Regions from separate parts of the Homo sapiens genome. Here region 1 is linked to region 2. The links are contacts of gene promoters, found by promoter capture Hi-C in blood cells and fetal thymus (Javierre and others, 2016). All regions are on one chromosome and are shown on one strand. Each heading gives the region's core, a stretch centred on a gene start or on the middle of the fragment in contact. The rest is flanking DNA. Distances are from core to core; before and after follow the strand shown. Region 1 overlaps IQSEC1 (IQ motif and Sec7 domain ArfGEF 1). Region 2 holds the start of HDAC11-AS1 (HDAC11 antisense RNA 1).

Region 1 (3,002 bases), core at 16-2,515, 480 kb after region 2:
TTTTGGAGATCAGGTCTCACTCACTCACCCAGGCTGGAATACAATGGCATGATCATGGCTCCCTACAGTCTCGAACTCCTGGGCTCAGGCAATCCTTCTGCCTCTGCCTCCCAAAGTGCTGAGATTACAGGCATGAGCCTATGCAGGGCCTTATCTTTTTACTTTCTTGATGGTGTCTTTTGAAGTGCAAAAGTTTTTAATTTTCATGAAGTCCAATTTATGAATTTGTAATTCTCTTGCTTATGCTTTTGGTGTTGTATCTAAGAAATCATTGTATAACCCAAGGTCACAAAGATTTCTTCTTATGTTTTTGTCTAAGATTTTTATAGTTTTAACTCTTTCATTTAGGTCTTTGATTAATTTGAGTTAATTTTTGTGTATGGTGGGAAGCATGGGCCCAAATGTATCCTTTTGTGTATAAATAGCCAGTTGTCTCAGCACTACTTGTTTTTTGTTGTTGTTGTTTGTTTGTTTGTTTCCAGATGGAGTCTTGTTCTGTCACCCAGGCTAGAGCACAGTGCCTAGATCTCAGCTCACTGCAACCTCTGCCACCCCCCACCCTGCCTCCGGGTTCAAGTGATTCTCCTGCCTCAGCCTCTGGAGTAGCTGAGATTACAGGTGCACACCACCACGCCTGGCTGATTTTTGTATTTTTAGTAGAGATGGGTTTTCACCTTGTTGGCCAGACTGGTCTGGAACTCCTGACCTCAGGTGATCCGCCCGCCTCAGCCTCCCAAAGTGCTGGGATTACAGGCGTGAGCCATCGCGCTCGGCCAGCACTACTTGTTAAAGAAATGATTGTTTCCAATGAATTGTCTTGGCACCTTGTAAAAAATCATTTGACAATATTTATTATTATTTTTGACCACTCCAGCTAAGGCCAAGACAATACATTTTTAAACATCATTTTCGTGAAGACGAAAACTCCTCCCCCATTTTAACAAAAGCATGCTGCAGGTCATCTGGACGACCCTCTACCAACTGAGCTCTGCTCCCTGATGTTCGTGGCTGCCTTTTCTTTATGAACATGTGGTCATCACAGGACCTTCCAGTGTAGCAGCGTTTACCACTGGATGCAGTGTTTCTAAAAGGTGGGGCCTGATGGAGCTTGGGAACTGTATTCTTAGAGGCCCATCAGTTCTTAAGTTTGAGAAACCCCTAATATAGAGCCATTTCTCAGACGGGAGAGCAGAGTTCCAGATAGGGAACATGAAATGTCCAACCTCATGCATCTATCAAGTGCCCACAAGCCAGCACAGGCAGTGTGGGGTAATGATAAGAACTCACTTAGGATCGGGCATGGTGGCTCATGCCTGTAATCCCAACACTTTGGGAGACTGAGGTGGGCGGATCACTTGAGGCCAGGAGTTCGAGACCAGCCTGGCCAACATGGTGAAACCCCATCTCTACTAAAAATAAAAAAATTTAAAAAAAAAGCTGGGCATTGTGGCAAGCACCTGTAATCCCAGCTACTTGGGAGGCCTGAGGCAGGAGAATTGCTTGAACCCAGGAGGTAGAGGTTGCAGGGAGCCAAAGTCGAGCCACTGTACTCCAGCCTGAGTGACAGCACACGCCTCTGTCTCAAAAAAAAAAAAAAAAAAAAGACTCACTTGGGTAAGTCACTCCCCATTCCTGAGCCTCTGTTTTCTCACCTGTAAAATGGAGGGCACACCACCCATCTCAAAGAATCTGCAGGAATAGAGATAGTTTGGATAAAGTATCTGGCACAGTGCTCTCTGACACAAAGTGGGTACCAGTTCATGGAAGTTGTGTTTATTGCAAGCCTGGGGCTGTGCCCACCAACTGGCCCTCCTTCAGCCCTCCCCTCCACAGTGCCTACTCTCCCCAGCAGGGCAGCCCTTGAGGGCTGGCTCCTGGCTTCAGCCTTCCCTCTGCTGCATATACCTCACCTGTCTGCTTACAGGGCATGGCTCTGTAGCAGGCCCTGTGCTCGTCCTAGTAAAGCAGTGATGAAGCAGACTCTATTCCTGCTTTCAGGGACCTTCTGGGCAGGTGGACAGAACCATTAGCTGATGACCACAGAACAGCATGGTAGCTGTTATTTTTATTAATAATAGCTAACATCTATAGAATTTCTGCTCTGTACCTGGCCCCACTGTCTCAAGATGTACAGGACACTGTGGGAGCCAAGAAGATGACGTCTAGAGGAGGTGACATTTTTAGAGCTGGATTTAAAGGATGGGTTTGGACTTCAGCTAATATACAAAGAGACATGAGCTTTCTATGAATTTTTGCCCATTTGATGGATGAAAATGAGATTATCATTTGATTTGTGTTTCTGTGTAAGGTCGTACATCTTTTTGAATGTTTACAGGCCATTTGTATTTCTTTTTCACTGAACTACCTGGTCAAATTGATTGGACATTTTTATTTTGAGTTGTTCATTTTTTTTGTTTTTGATTGATTTGGAATAACTCTTTATATATGGAGGAAACCAAGGGAATAGTATGTGCTAATACACAATGATATGAAATAGTACAGTGTGCTTGAAAAGCATTAGGTTTAGCCTAATTTTGAGAGACATAGTTGAAGATAGAGCTAAGCAGGGAGGCAAATGCTAGTTCCTAAGGAGCTTGGACTTTATTACACAGGACATAGGAGCTACAGAAGCGTTTAGAGCAGGGAAGGGATGTGATCGAATGTGTATTGTTGAAAATTACTTTGATAAGGGACAATAATGGACAGAGTGAAGAGCTAGAAGGGACAAATTGAGGCCAGAAAGTACAGGAGCTTGAATGTCCCCTGAAGAGTGTCTACCTGGTTTGGTGGGCAGTAGGGAGTCACAGAAGGTTCTGGGTAATGACCGATGGTGAACTGCAGAGACAATGGGAACTGAGAGTTGCCTGCTATACTTCCTGCTTTGTGGACAGCTATAAAGTGCAGGGGGCGGGACGGAGGCCAAGGCTAATCTCTGGGTGGGGTGAGCGGTTTTGTTTCCCAACATGACGCTTTGTTCCCCTAGATGTCCCCGCCCCACGTGG
Region 2 (3,294 bases), core at 733-3,232:
TGTGCCCAGTTCGGTCTACAGGTGGGCTTTTACAATCTTATAATGAGTGCCATATTAAGAAATCAGGGCCGGGTGTGGTGGCTCACGCCTGTAATTCCAGCTACTTGGGAGGCTGAGGCAGAAAAATTGTTTGAACCTGAAAGGCGGAGGTTACAGTGAGCTCCTGAGCCTCTGCTGCGATTGTGGTGCCTACCCCGAGGGCTGCTGTGAGGACTGGACTGGAATTGGGTGCACATGTTTCCTAATCATTCTAGGACACAATTTCCCCCATCTGTAATCAAGAGAGGTGCGGTGGAGGTGCTCTACCTCCTGACTCTCTGAACCTTAGGAAATGGACTCCTCCAAGCTTCACCTTCCCTGTGCCCATCAGTAATCAGCTACCTTTCCACTAGGCCTCTTGGGCAGAGGCAGGACTTAGGCCCACAGGATGGGGAGCCAGGGAGAGTCTGAGTCAGGGACATCATATCGTGATTAGGAGTCTGTGTTGGAAAAATCATTTTGGGCGGAAGCATGGGTGGAAGGCCATCCGAGGGCTGAAACTGAAGATGGGAGAGAGCCTGAGGCTTATGTTGGGGATGAGGACGGAGAGGACAGGTGGGTTGGAGGAAGCAGATGAGAGTCCAAGGGGGACCTTCCATACCTTTTAGGAAATTGATCACTTTGCCCCATTTTCCGGCATCAAAGGGATGCAGCTTCTCCAGGCCCATGAAGGTGATGTTGTAGCGCGGCGAGTACACGATTGGCCAGCGTGTCTCTGGCACATGCTGGTACAGCTGGGTTGTGTGTAGCCTACCGTGTGGAAAAAGACAGACGCACAGCTGGGGCAGCCTCGGCAGAAAGCAGCTCCCTCCCGAGCCCGCCTGGACTGACCCACCAGCCATTGCCCAGCACCACTAGCCCCTCAGCCGCAGACAAGGGCCCCTCAACAACAGCTGCTTAAACTGGCTGCCTTTCCCGGAACCCAATTCCAATCCAGTCCTCACAGCAGCCCTGGGGGTAGGCACCACAATCGCACCAGAGGCTCAGAGAGCAGACCAGGTGTGCCCAAGGTCACAGTGCAGGTCTGTGGAGAAGCAGGCGTGCACTCAGGTGTGTCTGGCTGCAAGGCCTCCGCGCATCACCTCTGCACCGTAATAAATGCCCCCACAGCTGTGTGGCACAAGGCTTCGGCTGCAAAATGTGTGGCTGTTGTGAGGACTCAGAGAATGCAACTGAGGAGCTGAGCACAGTAAGCACTCAGAAACCCAAGTCGGGACCCAACCTGAGCCAGGGCGGGGGGCGGGGATCCCCTGACCCCGCTGCGCTGCTAACCCTTCCCATCACACCCTGGCAGTCGTCACCCAGAGACAGAAATCCGCCCCAGTGGCTGCCTCCGTGGGGGCGTCCGCGTAGCCAGGGGGCTGGGCAGCGCAGACGTCAGACCCGCGCACATCGCCCGACCGCTCCGGGTCCGGGCCCAGGCCCGCGGCCGGCGCGCGTCCCTCGGGCCACCGAGCAGGGGCGCGGGGCTGGCCTGGCGCGCCGGGAGGGCCTGGAAACACCCGTCCCGAGCGTCCCTCACCCCTCACCAGCAAATCTGGGCCCTTACCTGGCGCGCCCGCCCGGCCGTCCCCGCCCTCGCCCTAGCGCGCCCGCCCACCGGGACCCCTGGGAGCCCACCCCCGCCCTCGCCCCGCGGCACTCACATCCCGGGGCCGGCCCTCCCAAAGCTGGCCGCAGCTCCGCGACCGGGCGGGGCGGGGCGGGGCGCGGGTGGGGCCAGCCCAGGACACGCCCCCGGGCTTAGCCGCGTCCTCTGGGGGCAGAGCTCTGGCCGATTTGGCCCGCCCCGCCAGTGTTGCGACACAGAGAGCCTGCCCGCAGGAAGGCCACCCCCAACGCCCATCAAGCCCGAAGTCCCGCCTCCGCAGGCAAATACCCGGTGGAATCCCGCCTGGTTCGGAAGCTCCGCCCCCTGGCGGGAGGGCCAAGCGGGTTTCACCCCGGCCTCGCGGAAGGGGCGCGACCACCGTATGTCCTGTTCCTGCGCTTCCCAAGCTGGGTAGAAACGGCGAGAGGCTGGGGGTTAGAAACGACAGGTTCCCGGCGGGCTGTGCCGGGGCTTCGCTGTGTGACCTTGGGCTGGCGTCTGGGCTCTCTGGGCCCTTGTTTCCGCGAGTTAAACGTAGGGGCGGGGGAGTTTCTCTGGCCCTGCCGCCTGTGACCTAAGGAGCCCCGTGACCTCTCCGACCCGAGCCCACCCCCGGCCCAGTCTGCGAGCAGCTCCGGGACAAGCACTCCCGGCGAAGACATGTAGGCTCTCAGAGCCTGCGTTTCCCTCTGTAGAGCAGGCCTAGTTACTGTCTTCAGGGTGCACGCGTCTCCGTCCCCGACCCGCACCCTCACCGCCGGGGTAAGCTGAGCCAGGCCCAAGCGACAGCTGGGGTTGTCCGTGGGGCTGCAACCCAGGAGGAGGCCCCAACAATAGAGCCCCAGAGGACGGAGACAATGGGCCTCTCTGTCGGCCCAGCCGTCCCCGCCATCCAAACAGAAGCAGCTGACGGAGGACTGCCGGGCTGGGATCCCTGGGCTCCGCGGGGGCGGCTGTGTGCCAGGGCGGGGCACAAGGGAAGCGCACAGACGTTTGAAGAGGGGCCCCCGTGTGCCTGCCATGATTGCATGATGGCATCTGAGCCTCACAACCTAATCCTGAGAAAGGTGCCATAATCACCCCAACTTTATCTTGAGGGAACTGAGGTTCGGGCCTGGATTAAACCCAAACTCGGCCACCCGCCAGCATAGTGGCTTTGGGCAGGTTGCTTCAGCCTTCTGGTCCTTCATGTCTGCATCTGAAAATGAAGTACTGGGCCGGGTGCGGTGGCTCACGCCTGTAATCCCAGCACTTTGGGAGGCCGAGGCGGGTGAATCACCTGAGGTCAGGAGTTCGAGACCATCCTGACCAACATGGTGAAACCCCGTCTCTACTAAAAATACAAAAAATTAGCTGGGCGTGATGAAGGGCGCCTGTAATCCCAGCTACTCGGGAGGCTGGGGCAGGAGAATCGCTTGAACCGGGGAGGGGAGGTTGCGGTGAGGCCGCGCCATTGCAATCCAGCCTGGGCGACAAGAGTGAGACTCCATCTCAAAAAAAAAAAAAAGGAAGAAAATGAAGTTCTGGTTGCACTTCATTCTCTGGATTTCATGGGCAAGTCCAGGGAATCAAGAGACAATAATGTTGATTATTATTCAGAGACCATCTGTCATGTGCTAAGTTGAAGTCCAAATGCTTTTTGCTTGTCGAACTCTTCTGACAGT

The links. The method cuts DNA at HindIII sites, captures the fragments that hold promoters and counts their contacts. A CHiCAGO score of 5 or more calls a contact.
Region 1: a contact is called between a fragment that was not itself captured here and the fragment with the promoter of HDAC11-AS1 in region 2, in 1 of 17 cell types (naive B cells). The highest score is 6.2, in naive B cells.

The regions. Positions count from the first base shown.
Region 1 is chr3:12,999,550-13,002,551 of GRCh38, reverse strand. All of the region lies in intron 1 of IQSEC1 (IQ motif and Sec7 domain ArfGEF 1), which reads left to right. Among named protein-coding and RNA genes, the nearest start is that of IQSEC1, 72 kb to the left of the region's middle. RefSeq lists a silencer at 1,029-1,323. The HindIII fragment of the contact is 4,704 bases long and covers 1-3,002 here.
Region 2 is chr3:13,478,741-13,482,034 of GRCh38, reverse strand. HDAC11-AS1 (HDAC11 antisense RNA 1) reads left to right here and starts at 1,982. Exons shown (of 2, transcript NR_046690.1): 1 at 1,982-2,392. HDAC11 (histone deacetylase 11) reads right to left here and starts at 1,729. Exons shown (of 10, transcript NM_024827.4): 1 at 1,686-1,729; 2 at 641-789. The coding sequence starts at 1,687. RefSeq lists enhancers at 1,008-1,664, 2,314-2,373 and a silencer at 1,364-1,853. The HindIII fragment of the contact is 8,461 bases long and covers 349-3,294 here.